6 separate regions of the Homo sapiens genome follow, and regions 1, 2, 4, 5 and 6 are each linked to region 3. The links are contacts of gene promoters, found by promoter capture Hi-C in blood cells and fetal thymus (Javierre and others, 2016). All regions are on one chromosome and are shown on one strand. The core of a region is centred on a gene start or on the middle of the fragment in contact, and the rest is flanking DNA. Distances in the headings are between cores, read along the strand shown.

Evidence for each region. The method cuts DNA at HindIII sites, captures the fragments that hold promoters and counts their contacts. A CHiCAGO score of 5 or more calls a contact.
Region 1: a contact is called between a fragment that was not itself captured here and the fragment with the promoter of CFAP91 in region 3, in 2 of 17 cell types (neutrophils and endothelial precursors). The highest score is 6.4, in neutrophils.
Region 2: a contact is called between a fragment that was not itself captured here and the fragment with the promoter of CFAP91 in region 3, in 1 of 17 cell types (erythroblasts). The highest score is 5.7, in erythroblasts.
Region 4: a fragment that was not itself captured here is called in contact with the fragment with the promoter of CFAP91 in region 3 in 1 of 17 cell types (monocytes); the score reaches 5.3 in monocytes.
Region 5: a contact is called between a fragment that was not itself captured here and the fragment with the promoter of CFAP91 in region 3, in 1 of 17 cell types (endothelial precursors). The highest score is 7.5, in endothelial precursors.
Region 6: the fragment with the promoter of ARHGAP31-AS1 here is called in contact with the fragment with the promoter of CFAP91 in region 3 in 1 of 17 cell types (monocytes); the score reaches 6.1 in monocytes.

Annotation. Positions count from the first base shown.
Region 1 is chr3:120,175,719-120,179,580 of GRCh38, forward strand. All of the region lies in intron 8 of GPR156 (G protein-coupled receptor 156), which reads right to left. All of the region lies in intron 1 of LOC105374065 (a long non-coding RNA gene), which reads left to right. Among named protein-coding and RNA genes, the nearest start is that of GSK3B-DT, 83 kb to the left of the region's middle. The HindIII fragment of the contact is 795 bases long and covers 1,345-2,139 here.
Region 2 is chr3:119,276,976-119,280,922 of GRCh38, forward strand. The region is part of intron 3 of B4GALT4-AS1 (B4GALT4 antisense RNA 1); the gene reads left to right. Among named protein-coding and RNA genes, the nearest start is that of ARHGAP31, 15 kb to the right of the region's middle. The HindIII fragment of the contact is 1,017 bases long and covers 976-1,992 here.
Region 3 is chr3:119,700,813-119,704,881 of GRCh38, forward strand. CFAP91 (cilia and flagella associated protein 91) reads left to right here and starts at 2,210. Exons shown (of 18, transcript NM_033364.4): 1 at 2,210-2,410. The coding sequence starts at 2,287. LOC105374064 (a long non-coding RNA gene) reads right to left here and starts at 2,231. Exons shown (of 3, transcript XR_924391.4): 1 at 1,684-2,231; 2 at 380-609. RefSeq lists enhancers at 1-110, 1-1,029, 1,696-2,375, 2,369-2,418, 2,469-2,528 and a silencer at 2,089-2,258. The HindIII fragment of the contact is 3,012 bases long and covers 715-3,726 here.
Region 4 is chr3:119,302,187-119,306,183 of GRCh38, forward strand. The region is part of intron 1 of ARHGAP31 (Rho GTPase activating protein 31); the gene reads left to right. Among named protein-coding and RNA genes, the nearest start is that of ARHGAP31, 9.8 kb to the left of the region's middle. RefSeq lists an enhancer at 727-946 and a silencer at 3,136-3,430. The HindIII fragment of the contact is 2,127 bases long and covers 1,314-3,440 here.
Region 5 is chr3:120,191,437-120,195,864 of GRCh38, forward strand. GPR156 (G protein-coupled receptor 156) reads right to left here. Exons shown (of 10, transcript NM_153002.3): 4 at 1,859-1,988; 5 at 1,503-1,613. Among named protein-coding and RNA genes, the nearest start is that of GPR156, 92 kb to the right of the region's middle. The HindIII fragment of the contact is 820 bases long and covers 2,062-2,881 here.
Region 6 is chr3:119,320,956-119,324,808 of GRCh38, forward strand. It overlaps ARHGAP31-AS1 (ARHGAP31 antisense RNA 1), which reads right to left and starts at 1,805. Exons shown (of 2, transcript NR_046748.1): 1 at 1,659-1,805. All of the region lies in intron 1 of ARHGAP31 (Rho GTPase activating protein 31), which reads left to right. RefSeq lists enhancers at 1,476-2,333, 2,334-3,190 and silencers at 1,753-2,112, 2,163-2,512. The HindIII fragment of the contact is 4,466 bases long and covers 1-3,586 here.

The sequences.
Region 1 (3,862 bases), core at 492-2,991, 470 kb after region 3:
AGGGGACAATAAGCACAAGAATGCAGACGGCCTCTAGAAGCTGAAAAAGACAAGGAAACAGATTCTCCCCTTGCATCTCTGGAGGGAATACAGACTTCCTGACACCTTAAGTTTAGCCAAATAAGACCTATTTCAGATTTCTGACCTCCAAAATTTTAAGATAATAAACTTGTATTATTTTAAGCCACTAAGCTTGTGGGAATTTGTTATAGCAGCAGTGGGAAACTAATATGGTGGGACTAAATGTCAACTCTTTAACAGGGTCCAGCAGGGCCTCAGAAGCTCCCCAGGTGTGTCTCTCCCCAGTCCTGTCATTCTCCCCCTGGTTTCCATTTGTGCTTCAAAAATAACAAAGACCATGGTGCTCCAAACATACGCTACTCTCTTTCTAGCCTCCCTGCCTCTGGTCATGATGTTATTCCATCAGAAATGCCACCTACTTTCCCCCATCTCTTCAATGAACTCTTATGTTTCCTTCAAGACTGAGCTCGAACACCTCATCTTCCTTCCTTCCTTCCTTCCTACCTCCCTCCTTCCCTCCCTCCCTCTCTCCCTTCCTTCCTTCTTTTTTTTTTTTTTTGAGACAGGGTCTTACTCTGTCTGGAGTGCAGTGGCACAATCACAGCTCACTGCAGCCTCAACCTCCTGGGCTCAGGTGATCCTCCTACTTCAGCCTCCTGGGTAGCTGGGACCAGAGGCATGCACCACCATGCCTGGCTAATTTTTGCTTTATATTTTTTGAGACAGTCTCACTCTGTCTCTGGCTGGAGTGCAATGGCACAATCTCGGCTCACTGCAACCCTTGTCTCCCGGTTTAAGCAACTCTCCTGCCTCAGCCTCCCAAGTAGCTGGATTACAGGCGCCCGCCACCACACCCAGCTAATTTTTTGTATTTTTAGTAGAGACGGGGTTTTACCATGTTGGCCAGGCTGGTCTCAAACTCCTGACTTCACGTGATCTGCCCGCCTTGTCCTCCCAAACTGCTGGAATTACAGGCGTGAGCCACCACGTCTAGCCAATTTTTGCATTTTTTGCAGAGACCAGGTTTCACCATGTTGACCAGGTTGCTCTCGAACTCTTGGGCTCAAGCGATCTACCCGCCTCAGCCTTGAAAAGTGCTGGGATTATAAGCATGAGCCACCATGCCCAGCCTCATTTTCTGAGAAGGTGCCACTGAGTTCTCAGATGGGCTGGGGAAGGCCTTTCTCAAAGCTCTTAACACATGTATGATAATTCCTTTCATGTTTGCTCCCCACTAGACCTAGAGGCGGACTCTGTGTTTAAGTGCATGTACCCAGCAGTTAATAAGTGGATGGATGGATGCATGCATGAACAAATGAAGGAAGCTTTCTTTAAAATGCTCACTGGTCTAGTAGGGGTGCTGGGACATATACATATAATTATAAGGCAGATTAGAAAGGCCTGCACATCTTCAGGGAGGAGCAGATGAAATGCTTTCGGGGTTAGAGGAGAGAGAAAACAATGTCCTACCTTAGGACCTGCCTGCCTCTCTGAGGGAGCAGAGGGCTGGGGGATGGGTCATATTCAGGTCAGAACAGCAGCGGCTGGCTGACTTCTAGTGATGACCTCAGTGCTTGGCATAAACACTCAGGCATTTCCTGAGTGCCTGTGTAAAGAAGGCTTCTTGGGCCCCTTGTCTCCTTAGTAATGTCATCCATTTCACCCGCTCTCTGGCGCTGCCTCGCTGCCCTGGGGGTATCTGTGCCTTTGCTTTCACAAACTCCTCCCATCACAGTCATGTCTGAAAGCTCACTGGCAAGAAGGAACCCCGTTTTGCTGCAACCCCCAACCCTTACCCAGATAGTTCCCCTCACCCACTTTCCCAAATTTACTCAAATTACTTTCCCAAATTATCTTCTAGGAATACACAGTGCAAGTATCACAGGGAGAATCGTTCTTCTACCAAAGACCTCGGAGCCAGAGGGAAACACACAGAAACCTAACAAACCTCAGTTTCTTTTATATTTTGAAAAAGAACTACTTACCATCTAAACCTAAAATACAACAGACTACAAAATATATTTTTTAGTTTCACATCATGGTCAGTTAGTTCCAGAGGAGAAAAAAAAAAAACACAAGGGAGAAAATGGAAGAGGAAAGACAGAGTAAGAGAAAGGAAGCTTAAGAAAGCTAGGAGGGAAAGAGGGAGTGAGATAGAAGGAAAGCAAGGCCAGTGCAGTCCATCCACCCAATTCCTGTACCTCATAATCATTCCATTTCCATTCCCAATTCAACAAATCAAGTGTTTGTTGCTTAGTGAAAACCTGGAAGGCAGATTTCAAGCAGCACTTCATTCTGCATTTTTGTGTGTAGAGTACCCAGATGTCACAATTGTCCTAGCTGCTGAGGACTCAAACACCAGGCAAAGGGGAAGTGATGTGGCTGAGGCTTACGATGCAAGGGGGCAGTGGTGAGAGGTGAGGATGGAGAGAGGAGCAGTAAGCAGGGCGCCATCATGGAGATTGCCAATTCATTCAGTTTTCTGACCAAGGCTTTGTTTGTTCAGAAACATTTTCCTCTGATAGCTCTTTGATAATGACTTCTGCCCCAAATTATTTTGTTCTCTTTCAGAGACTCCTATCAGCTCTCAATTGTATTCCTAGATGTTTTCCATATTTTATTTTTTTCTTTTTATTTTATTTTTTGAGACAGATTTTCGCTCTTGTTGCCCAGGCTGGAGTGCAATGGCGTGATCTTGGCTCACTGCAACCTCTGCCTCCTGGGTTCAGGCGATTCTCCTGCCTCAGTCTCCCTAGTAGCTGGGATTACAGATGGATGCCACAACGCCCAGCTAATTTTTGTATTTTTAGTAGAGATGGGGTTTCACCATGTTGGTCAGGCTGGTTTCGAACTCCTGACCTCAGGTGATCCGCTCACATCGGCCTCCCAAAATGCTGGGATTACAGGCATGAGGTACTGCATCTGGCCATTTTCCATATTTTCTTATCTAGTCTCTCATTTGTTTCCTTATTTTCTGTTTCCTTAAAGTAATTCACTAATTCAATATTTTGTAGTGTCTAATTGCCCAGTCAATGCTTCTATTGGGATTTTAAATTTAATACCATATTTTTAATCCTTATTCAATATTTTATTAAGATTAGCTTTTTTTCATGATAGTTTGCTTTAGTTGAGAAGAGACAATATCCTTTGAATTCTATTGACAAGTCCGGTATCTTCTAAACACTTCTACTCCAGAGGAAGGCAGCTTCTCTAAATCTTTAGACATTTGTAGTCCTCTTCTTGTGAACTGCAGATTCCCTTCATAGATCATTTCCTCCAGAATTTATAATCTTACATGGAAAGAGCTGTATCTTCCTAGTATTATAACTATATTCTCTTAGTCTTTTCCTTATGTTCACAAGAGAGCTGCCATAGCTCTAGGAATCACATACATTCAAGGCAGGAAGAAGGTAAAAAGGGTGATGTTAGCCATGCTTATAACCTTTTTCAGGAAAGCAAAAGCTTTCTCAGAAGCTTCTCAGAAAACCTCTAGTGTTCAAAATGGTGTCATATAGGCACTCCTATCTCTATGGGAAGCTGGCAAAAGAAGAGTCTAGCTGTTGCTGTCTCTATAGTGCAGGCAAGCAAGGAAGAAAGGGGTTAGCAGCTCTGTTGCCCAGGCTGGAGGGCAGTGGCGCAATCTCGGCTCACTGCAACCTCTGCCTCCCGGGTTCAAGTGATTTTCCTGCCTCAGCCTCCCGAGTAGCTGGGATTATAGGCGTGCACCACCATGCCCAGCTAATTTTCATATTTTTAGTAGAGACAGAGTTTCACCATGTTGGCCAGGCTGGTCTCGAACTCCTAACCTCAAGTGATACGCCTACCTCAGCCTCACCAAGTG
Region 2 (3,947 bases), core at 234-2,733, 420 kb before region 3:
CTGCATATTAACTAATTAGTAGTACCCATCCTATTTCCAAATAAGGTCATATTCTGAGGTACTAGGGGTTAGGACTTTAACATTTGAAATTGGTGGCACACAGTTCAACTCAAAACATTAGCCATGTTTTCTAAAGCGAAAATCAGAACACATCTTTTGGCACATGGTTTGACTATAGGGCAGAATGTTTGAAATCAGGACTATCTGAGCAATGTGGGTGTATGGGGGAATCCTTTTCAAGAGTAAATCTAGGCAAGTTAATATTATAGAAAATTTTTTAAAACATCCAGGTGGATACCCAATTGAAAAAGTTCTGCTAAATACCTGGCCGGGTACAGTGGCTCATGCTGGTAATCCCAAGACTTTGGGAGGCCAGGACGGGCAGATCACTTGAGGTCAGGAGTTGAGGCCAGTCTGGCCAACATGGTGAAACCCCGTCTCTACTACAAATATAAAAATTAGCCAGGTATGGTGGCACAGGCCTGTGGCCCCAGCTACTTGGGAGGCTGAGGCACGAAAATTGCTTGAACCTGTGAGGTGGACGCTGCAGTGAGTCGAGATCGTGCCACTGCACTCCAGACTGGGTGACAGAGACAGACCCTGTCTCAAAAAAAATTTTTAAATAAGGAAAAGTTCTGCTAAATACCTAGAATTAGAACAGAAACCTGTGGCTGCTTTAAATAATCAGGTTCCACAAAATCAAATTAATGTGAGTTATGCAGATATAGAAATAGATATAGATATATACATACCTACATGCATACATATGCATCTTACTTTGAGAAAGCACATAAGTAAATGAGATCTGTGTGTATTTGACTAGCTTCTTTTAAGATCAAAATGGAGATTAAAATACTTGTGTATTGAAGGTTGAAAAAAGAAGAATATTCTCTGAAATAAATGTTAAGATTCAAGTGTGATTTTGATTACAAAGTGGAACCCCTTCTCCCCACTTCTACCCACCCCCCCACCACAAGCTTGGAAACATATATCCAAAAGGTAGAATGAAAAACAACAGGCCTATATTATCCAACTTACAAATGTTCACAACTTTAGGGGAGCGAATATATATCGAGGGTAATTTGTATGTTTGACCTGTTATAACTCTTGTCTCCAAACTAACTTCTGCATACTGTATTCCCGAGATGGGAATGAAAACAGGTCCTGGGATACCAGAGATGTAAGAAAAGTGTGAGCCACAATCAAAACCATTTCCCAAATAGCCCACAAAAAGCAATGTGCCCTCCGTGTTAGAAAACTGTTTTATGGCCGGATGCGGTGGCTCGGGCATGTAATCCCAGCACTTTGGGAAGCCAAGGCGGGTGGATCACCTGAGGTCAGGAGTTCGAGACCAGCCTGGCCAACATGGTGAAACCCTGCCTGTATTAAAAATACAAAAATTAGCCGGGGGCAGTGGCACGCACCTGTAGTCCCAGCTACTCGGGAGGCTGAAGCAGGAGAATCGCTTGAACCTGGGAGGCGGAGGTTGCAGTGAGCCGAGATCTCACCACTGCACTCCAGCCTGTGTGACAGAGCAAGACTCCGTCAAAAAAAAGAAAGAGAAAAAGAAAGAAAGAAAGAAGGAAGGAAGGAAGGAGAAAGAGAAAGAAAGAGAAAGAAAGAAAGAAAGAAAGAAAGAAAGAAAGAAAGAAAGAAAGAGAAAGAAAGAAAGAAAGAAAGAGAAAGAAAGAAAGAAAGAGAAAGAAAGAAAAACTGTTTTACAAGAAACAGTCTTGCCCTTTCTGAAAAATTTTCCAGGTTCTAAGCACTTATGTGTAAAGGAAATCATCTCAAACTATGTTGGAACTGGGAATGGTAAAAATAAATTAATGACAATAAAATAAACTTAAAGTCTTATAAATATATTTAACATGGGACAAGGGATCAGGATAAGGAAATGTGAAAAAGACATGAATAAACTGGATAATGATGGAGGAAATGGAAGAATCGCTCAGTGAGAAGACAATAAAAATCACTCTCATTTATGTATCAAGCTTCTACCTCGGTATAAACAAAGTGCTAGGCATTTTCATTATCTTATTTAATCCTCACAACAGTCTAACAAGGTAGATATTATCACTCCAATTTAACAGATGGGAAAACTGTGGCTCAGAGGAGTTAAGTCATGTGTCCAACCACTGGGCAAATCAGTGGCAGAGTCAGGCATGGAGCCCAGGTTGGCCTGAGTCCACAGTCTGTGTGCCCAGAGCTGGGGAGGAGCCTCTGGGGACACGAATGTTTACAAGAACCTTTACAGCACCTCCATCTCATGGACAGGACTGAGTAGGAAAACCAGGCCTGTAGGGAGGGCTGAAATGGAAGGGGAAGAGCGTACAGAGGCAGATTACTAGGCATCAAGGCCTAACAACAACTGTGTATTGGGGAAAACAATTTTGTTCAAGAGGGCTATTTATAGGGATGTTTTTCCTCAGTACTCCCTTCCCCCATCTCCTCCCTTTTGTGTTAAGAGGCGCCTGGCAGATTGGTAAAGGGTTACAGGCAGTGGACAGGAAACCATGGAACACAATGAACGGGGCGGGACAGATCCCCACCCACCTAAGAAAATCGCTGGCTCCAGTATTCAGAGACCCTGGGGGGAGACAGACTGAGCTCAGGGTTCTGCTCCTTCCCTGGTTCAGCTAGAAAGAGGCAACGTTCCCAAAGGGGTGCGAAACAGAGCAAGAGGGGGAGCAGGGCAGAATGAGGCAACAAAATATAACAAGATTATTAAAAATAAGTCAAATGGACAGTTCATTCTCTTTCCTGAGGACTGCTGTATTCTGTGAGAGATGAAGGTTTTTCTACCCAAAGACTCTGTCCAGTGTGGGAACTCCAAAGATACAGCACAAGAGGCAAGAGAAATCATCTCAAACCCAGCTGCTGAGAGGGACCCCAGAATCCAATGTGAGGTCCTTGGGACACACCCTGCCAGGCTTCTTCCCTCTGGGCCACTGGACACAAATCTTAACCCAAATGGATCCAGATTCAGACTTAAAGCCTAATGCAAGACGCTGTGCAGATTCAGGCATTGGTATAATAATAATTCCACTCACAGCACTTGGCTCTTTCAGGCCTTGTGAAGTCTCTCGTCCACATGTGACTCTAGGAAGGAAGTGTCCCGCTGCTGTTTGGCAGTGTCTAGTGCCCATGGTGGAGTGGGACAAGGGGGTCTTGTACTGCCTGGTTTGTTCATTTCTGAAACATTGAAGATTGATTTAATGCTACAACTGTGCATATGGGTCAAATGTCATTATGGTTTTTTAAACACTATAGAACACAAAAGATTTCCAAACCTCTATTTTTGAATACTATTCAATACAAAGAAATTAGCGCATAAGTAAAATATTGGTGAGGAAAAACTTATTTCTCAAATAATTTCAAATAATTTATCCTGATGTCTCATCTAATCTCTAGTCCTAACTTCTCAGCTTCTCCTCAGTCTTGCATTTTATACTATCAAAGGACATTTCCTCCTGAAATTTCTGATATGGCCCTTGATGTGTAGAGAAGTATGTATTATCATTCTCCAAAAAAAAAAAAACAGTTTTTACTCTTACCAGTCCCCAGTCTTATAAACCCGGAGAGGTTTTGGACTCTACTGTCTCCTACATCTAGTCTTTTAAATAAATGTCTGAGATTTTGAGTTAGCAGTTAGGGTCCCTGATAAATGCACGGTTACTATAAAAAATAATACTTCATTTATCATCGAGTCTTATTCTTTCTTGCTATTCACTTTACATCACCCTTTCTACCCCAAAATTGGTAGTTGATGGTAAAGTAACTGAATTATGTTCTCAGCTGGGGAAGTGAGGATATAAAGCAGTCTCCCAGTGCTTTTTTTGCCCTAACTAATGCAGCTTTGCAACTCTGGGAACTATAATATTCAATGTAGGGAGAGGAGAGAGAAAGAGATAAAGAAGTTATGTTTAATAATGACTAGATCTGTT
Region 3 (4,069 bases), core at 960-3,459:
CTAAGCCAAAGTGAGTCCCAGCTGCAAATTAAGGGATTGAAACTTCAGCCAATCATATAGAGAGTTTAAGCTCTAGCTGCAGCCTGATGTTTTTAACCAATCAGGCCCACCAACCTAAGAGAGGAGACCACCCCTCATATTGTGTTATGCCCAATTTCTGCCTCCAAAGAAAGAAGAATTTAAAACAAAAAGGCAGAAATGAAATCCACAGGCAGACAGCCCAGCACTGTGCTCTGGGCCTGGTAGTTACAGATTGACCCCTGACCTAACCGATATGTTATCTATAGATTCCAGACATTGTATGGAAAAGCATTGTGAAAATCCCTGTCCTATTCTGTTCTGTTCCGATTACCAGTGCATGCAGCTCCCAGTCACATACCCACTACTTGCTCAATCGATCACGACCCACTCACGCAGACCCTCTTAGAGTTGTATGCCCTTAAAAGGGACAGGAATTGCTCACTCCGGGAGCTCGGTTTTCGAAGATGTGAGTCCGCCAATGCTCCCAGCTGAATAAAGCCCTTTCCTTCCATAACTCGGTGTCTGAGCGGTTCTTGTCTGTGGCTCGTCCGGCTACAAACCCACAAGTGGATAGAAAATAACCTAATCCTATGGGACAGAAAAAGGAAAAGGGGAGGAGTCATAAGGGGATATAAACATAAGATACCCAAACCAGAAATGGCAACCCTTCCAGGTTCCCTTCCACCACGTGGAAGCTTTACTTTCGCTTTCCCTTTACTTTTGCTTTGGCTTTAATAAATCTTGCCACCGCACAGTCTTTGGGTCCACGCATTTCTCTAGTGAAGCTGTAACACTTGCCACTGTGGTCCACGGCTTCATTCCTTGAAGCCTGTGAGACCATGAACCCTTCGATCGAGAAAAACCTTTGATCGGAAGAAGACTTCTCGTCTCAACATTAAAGGACAAAGAAGCCAACTCTAAGGCATGCCATTAGCTTTAATAATCTGAGTGTAATAAATAATAATGATCATAACGGATTAAAACATCAGATCTGTAAAAAATGCATGCATTCATAATGATATCAAACAAACAAAAACTTTGTGGTTAACTCTGGAGTTTGGTAGGGCACCAACTCATGTCTCTGAAATTTCATAATTAAAAAGAACAAATCCAGCATTTACCCAGTCTTTCCTCTATGAGATTATCCTGGTTATCTCAGGATAACCAATGAGTTGGTATGAAAAGATTCCTTTTATAGAAGAACCTCTGGTAATAATAGAGAATTATTGAAAGGATTAGAAATTCACTGCTCTAGGATAAAAGACTTAAGAGACATACCAAAATGCAACATGAGGACTTTTTTTGGATCTTGACTGGAACAAACCAACTATAAAAGATAATTTGGACTCAAACAGGAAAATTGGAATTATTTATAGTACTAAGGAATTATTGTTAATTTTGTTAGATATGATAACGGTAGTTAAATTTTTAAAATCTATGTCAGTTTGAGATGCAGACTAATTTAAGGGTAAAATAATATTATGTCTAGGATTTCTTTAAAAAAGAGGGGAAGGAAACTGAAACTTGATTGGCAAAATGTTGCTAAATGTTGATTCTGAGGGATGGGTTACTTGAGGGTTTGTTATTAAAAGTAGAATCACTTTTGCTTATGTTTAAAATTTTCCATTATAAATAGTTTTCAAAAGCAGAGCCAGTGCCTACCCCACATCATCTTCTGTTATTTAATGCCCAGGACTCAGAAAGGGTCAGCAGTCTCAGATCAACAGTTACTGATGTCCTAACCCATCCTAAACACTGATGCTAATGAGTGTGGGGCAAAGTTCACAGCGTGCTAAGGAGCAACATTTAGGAACCTGACTGGATTCCGCAGCTCTCGGGACAAGCCCCCTGGAAAAGGGCTGGGGGGAGGGGCGGGGAGGCACCCAATTATTCTAGAAGGTTCTGAGATCTCCCAGGGATTTCCGAGAGGCTACGAGGTGTAACTGGCAAATCAATGACTTAAGAGTAGCTTTCTCCCAGCCTCCCCGCTGGCTCTGGAGTATAGAGGGAAGCCAGCCTTTTCCTCCCCCATCCTGCCCCTCCCCTCTCTTCTCATCTTCCCCTCCACTCTCCTCCTGACCCTGGCCTGGCCACTCCTGCTTTCACTTCTCTCCACTCCTCTTCGGCCCCGCCCCGCGGCCTCCTCCCTCCTCCTTGCCCCGCCCCCTATCCCTGCGCGCCGGCGGCCGTTACCATAGCGACGTGCACGCAGTAGCCAGGCCTGACCCGCTGGTCCCTTGCTGGCGGGAGGAAAGAGGCGGCACCATGAGCCACGCAGTAACCATCGAGGAGCCCCAGGCCCAGCCGCAGGTGTCTCAAACTCGGTACCGGGAGAGGTCGCGGGCTGGGAGCCACATCTCCTCCAATCGAGCGTATGATTTTCTGTACGGTAAGGACCGCCGCAGACCTTCCTCCGCGTCCGTCGCCTCCTAGGCCAGGTGGGCTCCCAGATGGTGGGACCTGGCCAGGGGCATGGCGAACGAAACACGACCCTCTGGACTGACCTCTTGCCCACGGTTGTCCTTGGTCGGGTGGGGGCAGCTCCGAGCCCTCCAGGTGGCCGCACTCAGGTTGGGGTCGGGGGTTCGGGTACATCGAAAGGCGCGGGTGCGCTCCGCTTCGGGGGGCGATTTTCCTGAAACCTGTTCCGGGCGTTTTGGTACCCAGAAAGTGTGCAACGATTTGTACACTCGGAGATTCACTCAACGTTCCTGCATAAAATGCCCTACAAAAATGATCTTTTCTCTCCAACTCTCTGGGCAAATCCAAGTTGGGCGAAAAGAAGTGCCAGTTTATCCCATGCTTGTTTTTAGGTTTTTTGTTGTTGTTGTTGTTTGTTTTTTTTAACTTCTGCGTCAAAGCATTGCTTATAGACTGGGTCCGCTGGCTCCTCTTGGGCCAATAAAACCCCAGTTTATTTTAACGGCTTGGTTGTCCATTTTATGTTTTCTCTCTCTCCACGCTCCTTGAGTTCCTTAAGTTCCTGTTCTACACATTTTTGTAGCCTTCTGAGCACCTATTCTAGTGCTGATACATATACTAGGCGCTTCAATAAATAAATGTTTATTGAATTTGCCGTGGCAAGAACTGTAACCAGCTATAAGCATGATTTTTTCCAATTTTGCCCTCTGCAATCCCAGGTTTTTCACCTGAACCTTGCATTGCTTTCAGCAATGTGGTGTTGCCTCTGGGAATCCCAGTCTCCTTTGTGTGGGAATCTAGGGTACACATTCCTAGATAGAGGCTGTGTAATGATTGCTGACATATTCTGGCCAGTGTTTTTCTGTATTTACTCTTGGTTTTGTGAAATAAATCAAGTTAGCTCCTGTAAACACATCACCATGTTTTTTTTTCACGGGTAATTTGAGAAGGAGGACAAACATCTCCCCAAAGTATTTATTAAGCTGGTTGTTTCTTTGATGCCGAAGTGTCTCTTTTGCAGAGGAATTGCTAAATGTTTCCATGTCCCTTGCTAAGAACAGAAATTCACTCAGAGTAGATCAAATAAAAGTTTGGATTGTTATAAAACAATCTCGCCGCTAGTCATGGACAGGAAGCGAAGTATAGCCAGGGCGGATGAGAACCTGGATGGGGAAAATCAGAACTAAGATGCTGTGCTCTCCTGCTTTCTTTCTTTGACCTTATGACCTTTCACCTTGTTAGGGTTGCCACATTTAGCAAATAAAAATACAAGAGGCACCGTTAAGCTTGAATTTCAGATAATGAATAATATTTTAGTATAAATTTTTGTCCTGTGCAATATTTTGGAACACATTTATACTAAAAAATTATTCATTGTGTATCTGAATTTAAATTTAACTGGGCATCCTGTATTTTATCTGGCAACTCTAGCCTTCTTTCTATGTATAATCAAGCCCCAAGTAATGATATTTCGGTCAACAGTGGACTACATGTATAAGGATGGTCCCATAAGATTATAATGAAGTTGAAAAACTCCAATTACTTCGTGACATTGTAGCTGTCATAACATTGTAGCCCAATGCATCACTTTTTCTGTGTTTAGATATACAAATACCATTGTGTTACA
Region 4 (3,997 bases), core at 1,127-3,626, 400 kb before region 3:
CCAAGGGGCTGGCCTCAAGTACTGATTCAGTGAGGGTCACAGCCTGCTGGAACTTCAGGAGTCTAGATAGCACTCTCTGTCTCTCTAGACTTTGCCGCAGTATACAATTTCAACTAAGGCTTCACATTTAAAACCCCTGGGAACAAACAGGCTGACTGTAATTCAGAGGAGAATAAGTATTGGTACTAGATTTTTTTTTGTAAGAGCAGAGTTTGATAGAGAAAGATGAAAACATCAGGCTGCTGAATGGCTGAAGGGAAGAGGAGGAAGAGGAGGTCTCTTGAAGAGAAAGGACTTAGACATGAAGTCTGAGTCCCACATCAGGCCTTGTTGTTATTTTCATTGGTAGTAAGTGCTACTTATCTGTGTTGATTGCTTACTCTGTGCCAGTCACTTTATACATGCAAAGTAATATTTCAGTATCTTTAAGAATTGGGCATTTTAATCCCCATTTTACAAAAGAGAAAACTGAGTGATTTAACCAAGTGATGCCAAGATTATAGAGATGGGAAAGGCAGAATTGAAATCAAGATCTGTATGACTCCTAAGGCCATGGTCTCAGGCATGAACCACATATCTTAGGATAGCATATTTCATAATTTGGCATTAACAGTTTTGCCACAACCTATGAAAAGTGATTTTGCTCCCTTTGCTTTGTTTTTCCCACAGCCTAAACCATGAAGAGTCATAATAACGATGGACATTTGCATAGCACTTTACCCTCTGCAAGGTGCATTTCACACACACGGATCTAAACCTACCAGCTTTGAAGCCCAGCCAGACCCTATCTTTTCCTCCCAGGTCCCTTGCCCACTGCAGCCACATCTTCTTCACCTCTTGGAATACCCACTGCCTTAGGGTCAGGTGTACCCAATTTGTTATGCATTCTACCTGTTGTTTTGTTCTCTAACACTTTATGTATGCAAATCGATGGTGAGTTCCCCCGAAGGCAGATCTGGTAGCTCACTGTGGCTCTCTCAGGGTGAGCCCCATGTGAGACATGCAGCAGTTGATTCATTGACCCTACTTCCTTCTTCAGAAAACCAGTGTTTGTGCCCTTCTAGGAAGCTCAGGATAAGGCACATTGCTGATGTGCTGGATTATCAGGAATCCAATTGCTTAATGGTCCCCACAGGGGTTCATAGCTACTCCCAAATAGAAACTGACCCAGGCTTTGCACAGAACTCCCCAGAAACACTGCCTTTTCCTAGTTCCTCACCAATCACTCCTTGGTGTGAACCACATTCTTGGCAAGGCCCCAGAACCAACTGAGTTTCTGGGATCGAGTCTCAGGCACTCTTTGTTCTCGTTTAAGCTTGGTTGATGCATACCAGGCCCTGGTACCACGCCCATGGCCTGATGCTGGCCCAGAATGCCTTGTAGGCCCCCTTCCCACCACTACTGGAGGGAGAGGGGTGAATGTCACCCCTCCCCTCAAAAGCAACATATACCAGCTCTCGCTGTCATAGACACTAGAAAACAGCTTGACATATAAGCTAGGATTCCGGCAAACCGTACATAAATCTATAGGCTATGTGAAGGCAATTGAGCTAATTTGTGTGATTATGCATATTTCTTTCCCCAGCTCTTTTCATGTTTTTTGTTGTTGTTGTTGTTGTTGTTGTTGAGATGGGGTCTCGCAGTGTCGCCCGGGCTGGAATACAATGGTGCGATCTCGGCTCACTGCAACCTCCACCTCCTGGGTTCAAGCGATTCTCCTGCCTTAGTCTCCCAAGTAACTGGGATTACAGGCACCCACCACCATGCCTGGCTAATTTTTCATATTTTTAATAGAGACACGGTTTCACTATGTTAGCCAGGCTGGTCTCAAACTCCTGACCTCGTGATCCGCCTGCCTCAGCCTCCCAAAGTGCTGGGATTACAGGTGTAAGCCACCGCACCCGGCCTCTTTTCATGTTTTAATCAGATCCTATCTGGAATGGGACTTTCAATTCAATGCAATAAGTATGTAATGGGATTCTAACGTGCCAGACACTGTTGGGTTTACAGAGATGCTCTCAAGTTGCTCCTGACCTAAAGGATTCAAAGAGGGAAAACAACTAAAAGAAGTACAAAGAAGAATGGAATGAGGGCTGTAGAGGATGAGCAAGCAGGGGATGTGCACATGTGAGGCAGCCAAGTGAGAAAGAACCATCAGACAGAGTGGGTTGTTTTCACCAGGGGAAAAATCAGTAAAATTATAAAACAAACATCATCTGACCGAGTTATGACAGCTATGGGAGGATGGGAGGATGGGGTGGTTGGTCTCTAGAGGCAGAAAACCACAGGAATTTGCCTGACACTTGGAATTGGTCACACCCTTCTGCACCCTGGGGAAGAAGGGGCTTAAAATCTGGGAAAGGCAGCTGAGGGTACTTAGAGTGGTGAGGCTGAGACTGGCTGCAGTGACAGAAGCCTGCCTTCAGCTGCAGGGGGAGTGAACCTAACCTCAGGAGAGGGCAAACCAGCTGATAATAACAAGAGTGACCTTTGATTTGGCTTATCTTGGCTTTGTCTATCCCCTGCCCAAGCACAGAAGAATGGAGAATTCTGTTAAAATTAGCTGGGCTTGGTGGTGGGCGCCTGTAATCCCAGCTACTTGGGAGGCTGAGGCGAAAGAATTGCTTGAACCCGGGAGGCACAGGTTTCACTGACCCAAGATGGCGCTACTGCAATCCAGCCTGAGTGACAGAGTGAGACTCTGTCTCAAAATAAAATAAAATAAAATAAAATAAAATAAAATAAAATAAAATAAAACTTTTAAAAAATGGTGCTAACTGACCCTCTGTTTCTTGATTAAATCTATCTGTATGGCATAAATGTCCAACTGCAGAGTCTTCCACTATATGGAAAGTTCTGTTTTGTCCCCATCTTATGAAGAAGGACCAACTCAGAGAGGTTAAGTAACTTGCCTCCTGTCACCCAGCCAGGAAGCGGCAGAAGCAAGACTCCAGCTGTGTCTGTGCAACATTAAATTCTCCTTCCATGGCTTTGTCTGCTCTTGACCCAACGAGACACAGCTATGCTAGCAGTAAAACAGGTCTGATATGCAGAGCTCCATTTTGCCATGCATTGCCAAGGTGATAAGTTCAGTAGGATTTAGTTAGACTTAATAAAACTTCTGGCAATTGAGTTCCCATCCCCAGTTTTTCAAAGTAAAACACTTAGGTTCCAAATGGCAGGATTCTAAACAGAGAGCATGCCCTGTTACCATAAGTAGCCCCTTCCACCACTTCTTTCCCATCTGTTTCCTGCATGCTGGGTATTATTGGGAAACAATGATGTCAACTCTTCCATATAAATCTACACCTCCCTGCCAGCCCCTCCCCTACAATGCATATTTTTGTTCCTCTTTCTGGCTTTTGTCTTGCTGTTCTGCTAAGGACTCATACTTTTGGCGACAATTGTTGGCTTTCTTTTTAACAAGTTTTAGCTATTTAAGCTTTATTGTGGCCTTCAAAGTGCACATGCTTTTTGGGGCCTATATTTGGAAGATCCTTTGTTTGGCTAATAGCTAGAATATGAGCTTGGTGCTAATGGAGAAGAGCCATGTTGCTTTCTGGAAAAGCAAAGCCAAATGCAGGTCTCTGAATCAAGCTCAGAGCTGAGGACAGAAACGCTGCTTGGGTTGGGGGCCCTCTGAGGCTGCATTAAAGCTGTAGCTGCCCTGGACACAGAGCCTATAGCTAAAGGCCAGGAGAATATCCCCTTCAGGTAATCTGTAAACGTCCTGTTTTCCCCCCTCCTAAGCCTGACTTCCAAATGGGGCATGGTTTCCTCAGTTTTCCTTTCTTTAGTAACTCTAAAGACAATTTGGTTTCAGATGGAAAGGAGGGCTAGTTCTCTGGGTACAGTATGAGTTTTAAATTCAGAGTCCGAGAATTCTGGACCTCTCTTGTTAATCCTTGGGCAGCATTTCTCAAACTTTACTGGGCATAAGAAAGACTAAAAATGTAATTCTTGCTTTTAAATTTTAATTTTAAAATTAAATATTAGT
Region 5 (4,428 bases), core at 1,222-3,721, 490 kb after region 3:
ATCAAATGTTGCCAAGAATGTGGAGGAAATGGACTCTCATACATTGCTGGTGGAAATGCAGAATGGTACAACCACTTCGAAAAACAGTCTGACTGTTACTTAAAAAGTTAAATATACACTTACCATATGATCCAACCATACTCTTAGGTTTTCACCCAAGAGAAATAAAAGCCTATGTCTAAACAAAGACTTTGTACACGAATGTTCATAGCAGCTTTAATTTTAATCGCCACAACTGGCGATAACCCAAACATCCATCTACAGATAAGCAAATTGTGTCTATGCATTGTAATACTACTCAGCAATAACAAAGAAATAACTATTGATGCACACAACATAGATAAATAACTATAATATTCATAAAAACAATTATGTGAGTAAAATAAGCCAGAGAAAACAGAGTCCATACTGCATGGTTCCATTTATGTAAAACTCTGGAAAATGCAAACTCATCTACAGTGACAGCAAATCAATGATTTTCTGAGGATAGGAACAAGGGATATAAGGATTGGACAGGGGAGGGAGATAACAAAGGGTTGCAAGGAAGCTTTTGAAGATGAGGGATATGTTCATTATGCACCATGTTTCTTGGTTGTATATCCATGTCACAATTTATCAAATCATATGCTTTAAATATGTGCAGTTCACTGCATGTCAGTTATACTTCAGTAAAGCTGTTTAAAAAAGAAATTGGTGTTCTTGAGGGATGAATGCAGTTTTTGTCCTTTTAGGCAATCTTCTTCATAGGTATGGTTGCTCACAGCTGAGCTTTTGGTAAGTATGCACCATGATTCAATAACATTTGCTAAAATAAATTCCCATCATTCCAGAGAAGTAAACACCAACTGAATGATATATTGGGTCTGGGCAGGGCCTATACCCAATGAGGATAATGGTCAGGAATTGAGGTTTGAGCAGTCTCATCAGACAACCTGATAAAATGGGGAAATGTGGTTAAGTTGATGACTGATACCAGGGACATGTCGGTGATCTGGCTGCTACATAACTTAGAGTTGATTCTATCTGCTCTTCCTTGCTCACTGCTTTGGGCACATCCTTCTCAGTACAGAGAACTGCCTTCTACATAGAAAAGAACTGGACTCCAGGGAAGGAAATAACTACTTACTTGCTATAGTTTCTCTGTAATCACTCTTCCTCCCTTCACTTCCAGCTCGCACCTGTGCCAAACAACAGTCTCTGGGTATCTTGTTCTGCCTCACACTGGTGCCAGGTATTGGCCAGCTCACATGTCCCCACAGGGCCTGGGGTACATAGGAACCAGAGCCCACGTTTGAAGCCCTATCTTCAACAGCACTGATCCACAGCCTTCCAGACCTGAGGCCTTATGAGGCTGCATGATTCCAGGGTTTGGAATGAGAAACAGGAACTTTGGATGTCCTGAAAGGGGCTAGGCTCAGTAATGTGCATGAGCTTCTCTAGCTGTTAACCAATGCTGAAGCTACCATCTACAGTCAAGCATTGTGTACTTGCTGCCTACTCACCACTCTCTTGTCCGGGACCCTTTGGGTAAACACCTTGTAGAGTCGCCAGCTCTTTCCCAGAATGGGGCCAAACACAAGGGAGGTCCCAATGCACAGCATGGACAGTCTTGTCTATGGGTGGAAGGGGACAGAAGAGTCACAAGAGGAACCTTTATCAGTTCTCCACACACTCTGATCTGTAGGGTCTGGGTCCCACAGAGCGCACGAGGTACAGAGTGAACCTCACCAAGTGTTCTGGGATTCCCTCGAAAAGTGCCCACTCCAAGGATAAAGGAAACCACCACCCACGGGAGCAGCTGGTTTAAAAAAATAATCAAAACTTTATAGTCAAAACCAAATTTTAAAACTTCACCTACCTGAATGAGAGTTTCCATTGAGCTCCCCACTAAAACATCCTGAATCCCAAAGAGGTAAGCGCTACTGTAAGTGAGACAACTGCCCAGTAAGGTCACAATGTTCAGATTGGGACTGGACATCTTCACAATCCTAGAGGGGATCAGGAAGAAAGACACTTACAGCCATGACCTTTTGCCTTGGGGCCAAAGACCTACGAGACCAAAGCTTCCTCACCAGCATAATCTCCAGTGCAGCCTTGGAGTGAAGGACCACTGGGAAGAAACATCTTTACAGCCCTGTGAAAACTTATAATTTCTTTAAATTTATTTTCACAAAGAACTAAACTCTGGCACTTATTCCTTGTATAACTCCCAAGTCTTTTAAAAGAAGGATGACTACCTACAAACAGGTGGTATTGGAGAAGAGTTGGGATTTTATGCATGAAGTTTATGGTTGCTAGGGGATTGCTATGTGCAGCTTAGTGAATAAATAACCAGCAGGTAGATATCCACAGAGTTTGGAGCCCTTAGAGGTTTTTTTTTTTTCATATACTATTTACTTTATTTGATATGTAAACCATTTTCCTCTACTTTTCCAAGAAAGAAAGAGGATAAAGGGATTAGAAGCAGGAAATTGGGGAAAGGCCTTTTCTCAAGTATTAATAGTTTTAGATGAGATTGGAGACAAATTTGAAAGTTAGAGGGAGATGTAAATAATCAGGGTTTCAGACAAATACCCTGGGCACCAACAGAAGTTCAGGATGTGAACTGGTTAACCTAAGGGCAATGCCAGGCTCACACTGGACAGTGACTGATACTAATTAATTACAAGTAACAAGAAGGAAAGACATTGTATTTAAGAATTGTAATCTAAATAGTGTATATAAATGCAACATTTCTACTAATAGTCATTTGATAATTATACTTTGTTATACTTTTATTTTTAAATCATAACTAAGGAGGAGAGCATTCTTACCTATGTCTCTTGATGACATGGCAGACTGCCTTAAAGGCAGGGCCAAGGCAAAACTATCCACTTAGTGAAGCTTGTTCTAACCACAGGCAAAGCACCTAGGAGGCACTAAACAGTTTGGCAGTGCTGGATTTGCAAGCATCATAACCGCCAGGAGCACGGCTTAGTTACTTTGTGTCTGACATTGTAATACATCCATACACACAAGAACACCAAACCACTGTCCCAGGCCCCAGGTACTGTCAGCATAGGCCAGTGAATCCAGTTGAGCTTAGCCTTGTTTTGGAGGGAAGATTTTTTTCTTTTTCTAAAAGTGAGAGCAACTTTCATGCACACCCTTTTCTAAAATGAGAATAATAATTATGCGATCTACCTTCAAAGAGTTGTAAGGATTTAATAAGGCAATATGGCAAAATGCTTGGCACATGGCCTGGCACATAGTAGGCATGTTGCCAACATCAGCTGCTTATATTATAATCTCACTGTCCACCTCTTCCAGGTTTTAGAAACCTAGGAATCACCTTTTCCTTCTTCTGTTTCTTTATCAGAAACACCCAATCAATTGCCAAGTTTCTTTCATTTCTTCTTCTTTTTTTAATTTTTTTGAGACAGAGTCTTGCTCTGTCACCCAGGCTGAAGTGCAATGGCATGATCTTGGCTCACCACAACCTCTGCCTCCCTGGTTCAAGTGATTCTCCTGCCTCAGCCTCCCGAGTAGCTGGGATTACAGGTGCCCGCCACCATGCCCAGCTAATTTTTGTGTTTTTAGTAGAGACAGGTTTCACCATGTTGGCCAGGCTGGTCTCGCACTCCTGACCTCAAATGATCTGCCTGCCTCGGTCTCCCAAGGTGCTGGGATTACAGGTGTGAGCCACTGTGCCCGGCCTCTTTCACTTCTTATTTCAAAGTCTCTGAGTTTTCTCTCACTCTCCATCCTTTTTTTTTTTTGAGACAGAGTCTCTCTCTGTTGCTCAGGTTGGAGTGTAGTGGTATGATCTTGGCTCACTGCAACCTCTGCCTCCTAGGTTCAAGCAATTCTTCTGCTTCAGCCCCGAGCAGCTGGGATTACAGGTGCCCACCACCACGCCAGGCTGATTTTTGTATTTTTAGTAGAGAGAGGCTTTTGCCATGATGGCCAGGCTGGTCTCAAACTCCTGACCTCAAGTGATCTGCCTGCCTCAGCCTCCCAAATTTCACTCTCCATTTTTTTTTTTTTTTTGAGACAGTGTCTTGTTCTATTGTGCAGGATGGAGTGCAGTGGGGCAATCTCGGCTCACTGCAACCTCCACCTCCTAGGTTCAAGTGATTCTCATGCCTCAGTCTCCCCAGTAGCTGGGTTTACAGGCACGCACCACCACACCCATCTAATTTTTGCATTTTTAGTAGAGATGGGGTTTCACCATGTTGGCCAGGCTGGTCTCGAACTCCTGACCTCAGGTGATCCGCCCACCTCGGCCTCCCACAGTGTTGGGATAACCGGTGTGAGCCACCGCGCTTGGCCTCTCCATTCTTGATACCATGTTTATCCAGGATACAATCATGTTAGGAGCAATGGAACTGGGGTTGAGGGTAACAGGTGGGAACACCAGCTCTGCCACTCACAGCTGACTAAGCCTGT
Region 6 (3,853 bases), core at 555-3,054, 380 kb before region 3:
TCCTTGCAAAAGCTCTCTCTTCTCTTGAGTGCCTTTAATCTTCCACCATGACTTGTGGCCTCCCCAGCCATGTGGAACTGCAAGTTCATTAAACCTCTTTCTTTTGTAAATTGCCCAGTCTCCAGTATGTCTTTATCAGCAGTGTGAAAACGAACTAATACAGATGTATAAACATTGACCCATCCTCTTTAACTTCCATATACCCTTTTTAAATTGCAGAAAAATCATTCAATTAGTGGAAAAATTGCTCAAGTAAATTTTATCATCTTTCACCCAGGCCCGGTGATTTCCTATTCAGCAGCAATTTCACATATATATATATACTATATATATATATATAGTATATATATATGTATTATGTATATATAATTATATACTATATATGTAAAATTTTAAAATCAATGTTTTCATACTTTTTAATAATACATGCTTATCCTCATTGTAGATAAATTGGGAAATACATAAATGTTTTAGAAAGAAAAAAATACTTGTATGTAATTCTATCACCCAAAGATGTAACATTTTGGTGGATTTCCTTCAAGTGTTTTTTTTCTATGTACATTTTCATATTGTGATTACACTGTGTGTGTGTATATATATATTATATATATATATGATTTTGTGTCTTGCTTTCTTATAACCGAAGTCTTTATTCAAGTTATAAAACCCTACATATAACATTTTAAGGCTCCGTAGGTTTTGTTTTGTTTTGAGACGGAGACTCGCTCTGTTGCCCAGGCCAGAGTGCAGTGTCACGATCTCAGCTCATTGAAGCCTCTACCTCTCGGGCTCAAGTGATTTTCCTGCTTCAGCCTCCCAAGTAGCTGGAACTATAGGCCCACACCACCACGCCCAGCTAACTTGTTTTTGTATTTTTAGTGGAGACGGGGTTTCGCCATGTTGGCCAGGCTGGTCTTGAACTTCTGACCTCGGGTGATCTGCCCGCCTCAGCCTCCCAAAGTGCTGGGATTACAGGCGTGAGCCACCACGCCCGGCCCATAGTAGTTTATCATATAAATATGCCAGTTTATTCCCTGCCTCCATTACTGGACATTTATAGTTATGATTGTTTTAATTTTATGAACAAGCCCACAGTGAATATTGTGAGGCATATGGCTCTTTTGTTATGTAATATTTCTTTGGAATAAACTCCCAGAAGTAAAATTGCTGGATTAAAAGGTGTGTTATTAGTCAGAACTCTCTTGGTTGTGACTGAAGGAACTCTGACATAAGAAAAAAAGTGGGGGTTAATTACTGATTCATAGAAGCAAACTTTGGCAAAGACAAGAAGGGAGCTGGCTTTAGGGAGCTGGGACCAGAGGCTGGAATTTTAACCTCCTGACTTTCTCCTTGTCTCTTGAATTTATCTTAGACATAAATGAAAATAGAGGTAACTCAAAGCGTCTAACCCACAGTGACAATTGCTGCTCTGTTTTTAGAGCCGGGATTTTGTTCGTGGACTTGCCTTGCCTGGTGGTTGAACTTTGCAGCCCCTTCCTCCTCCGGGCAGCTTCTCTCAGTGGCAGCTGTGTTCCCCATGGTTTGTCCTGGATGTCTCCCTTGTGCCATCCTTGCAAGCCCGCGGCCAGCGCCTCCACCCACGCTCCGGCCTTGCTCCCACTCCCACCGCTCTGCCACCTCCCACCTCAGCCTCCCACCTTGGTGTGGAGGGACCAGCGTCGAAGACAAAGGAATCTCTGACGAGAACCGGCCAGTCCGGGAGGGACGGCGGGGAAGGGGGTGCTGCTCTGGCGGAGCCCTCACTTCACTCGCTTCCCCTCGAGCGCCCCTCTAGGCTGGGGCCCGGCCGCTCTGGGCCTGCTCCTCCTCCCGCTCCTGTTGCGGGGCACCAGGTCAGACCCTACAGGGGGCTCCGCCAGGGGGAGGGGGAGAGGGGCTCCCTTCAAACTCGGCCCGGCCGCGGGGGTCCCGGGTGCCCTCTGCTGGGCTCCTTCCACGTCCTTGTCCCTCCTGAACTCCCGTTCCAGCCCTGCCCCCGCCCCGCAGTAGGGAACGGACTCGTTTCTGCCCCGCCCCGGGGTCCGGGCGCCCGCCCGGCGCTTCAGCTTCAGCAACGTCAAGGCCACGTTCCCTCCGCTCCAGCTCGAAAGACGGTGGCGCTGACTCTGCTCTGCGCGCCGCAGCTTCCTCCCGCTGCTCCGCCCAGCGGTTTCTGATCCCCTTTCGGCGCTGGGGACTCACACGCTGCGGCGACAGGAAAGCCCGCGCCCCCGGCCGCTTCCCGGAACGCCCTCGGGGACGGCTGAGTCACTTGGCGCCCGCCCGCGCGGCCACCGAGCCCAGAAGCGGGGAAAGCCCAGAAGCGGGGAAACCCCAGGGACAGCCGCCGGCCCTGGGGGCAGCCAGCGCTCCAGGCCGCCCAGCACCTCGGGCCCGGATGGGCTTCTCGCGCCCCAGGGCTGCGGCCACACCCCGCCGGCCCAGACCCCGCGGGTAGAGAAAGGAGGTGCAACCCTGAGAGCCAAGACGTTGGGCTTGGCTTTGCTTTGCGTTTCTTTCCTTTTTTCTTTTGTTTCTTTTCTTCTTCTTTTTTTTTTAACCACATCCAGGAAGAGGAGAAACCTGTCTCATGACAGGAAACGAAGAGGGAGGATGCATCCGAACTGAGGGACATTGTTTCAGTTGCCTCACCTGACATACTGTCTCACCTGAGAGAGGGAGGCCGAAGAGGCAGCCAATGGTGGCTGGAGCAAGCCCTGTCCTCGTTACCTGGGCTGTGGCTGAGCCCTGGGGCTCACCGGCTGTATGGCCCTGGGCAAGTCCTCGGAGCCTTAGGTTCTCTGCAAAATGGAGATGATGTTTAATAGAAAATGTTTCTATAACTTTTGTGGCTTACTTTTTGAAAAGCGAGGGAGGGACTTTTGTCCTTCCCTCCTCGCATCTCAGTCGCAGTGCTGGTTCACAATCAGGCTGTTAACGCGGTTTCCACATTTCCTGTCCTCCCCCTTCCCCTTTCCTGCTGGGAATAAGAAGGTGGGCCCCCAAGGAGACAGAGGGTACACTCGTAAATGAAAAAGAAAAGTCAGCACAAGGACCCTTTGCTGCGGAGATTTCTTTTTCCAGGTATCCTAAGTGGGGCTCTTGCCATCCCTGCCATCCCTGCTCTACACCGAAGGGGTGAAGTCCTGGGACTCTGTTATGCCCATCTGTATGTAATCCTAGGCAAGATTATTACAGTAGCGCTTTCCTCTTTTTAGAATATACCCTTGTCTAGCCCCTACCCCATCTTCAGGACAGTAAAGGTTCTCAACTCACTTCAAACCCTCCTAGCCGTCTAGAACAGTGGCTCACAACCGCAGACCCATAGGAAATGTAGGGCCATCTATGTAATAAATTTATCCGGATGTATTATAACAATTTTAAGGTTACACTTGTCCTTTCTTGAACAGGACAATTCTTTATTCTAAGACTATATGCTTCATAGTTTTAGTTATTTTGAATTGTCCATTCTGTTATGAAATACGATAGTTATTGTTGGTTGATGTCCTCTCTCAGAAAAATAAAAAATTAGCAGTCCTAGGTAGATCCCCCAAAATCTTTTAAACTTGATCTGTGAAATCCAAAAAGCTTGGGTACCATTGCTGTATTCCACATGTGGTTCACATCAAGGTTCCTTGTCCCTCCCAAGGAGATTTGTAGCTATTAAAAGAAACAAACAAACAAACATAAACAACAAAAACCCTTTCGAGAATCAGATCCTCAAAGAATGTTTAAGGATAGACGTGGAAAAACAAAGAGTGGGGAGAGGAGTCTTTCTCTACTCTCAACCCCTAGCCCTTAGTGTAGGTGAAGGCAGCACAGTTGTATCTATTCTAACTGGTATTTAGTATTG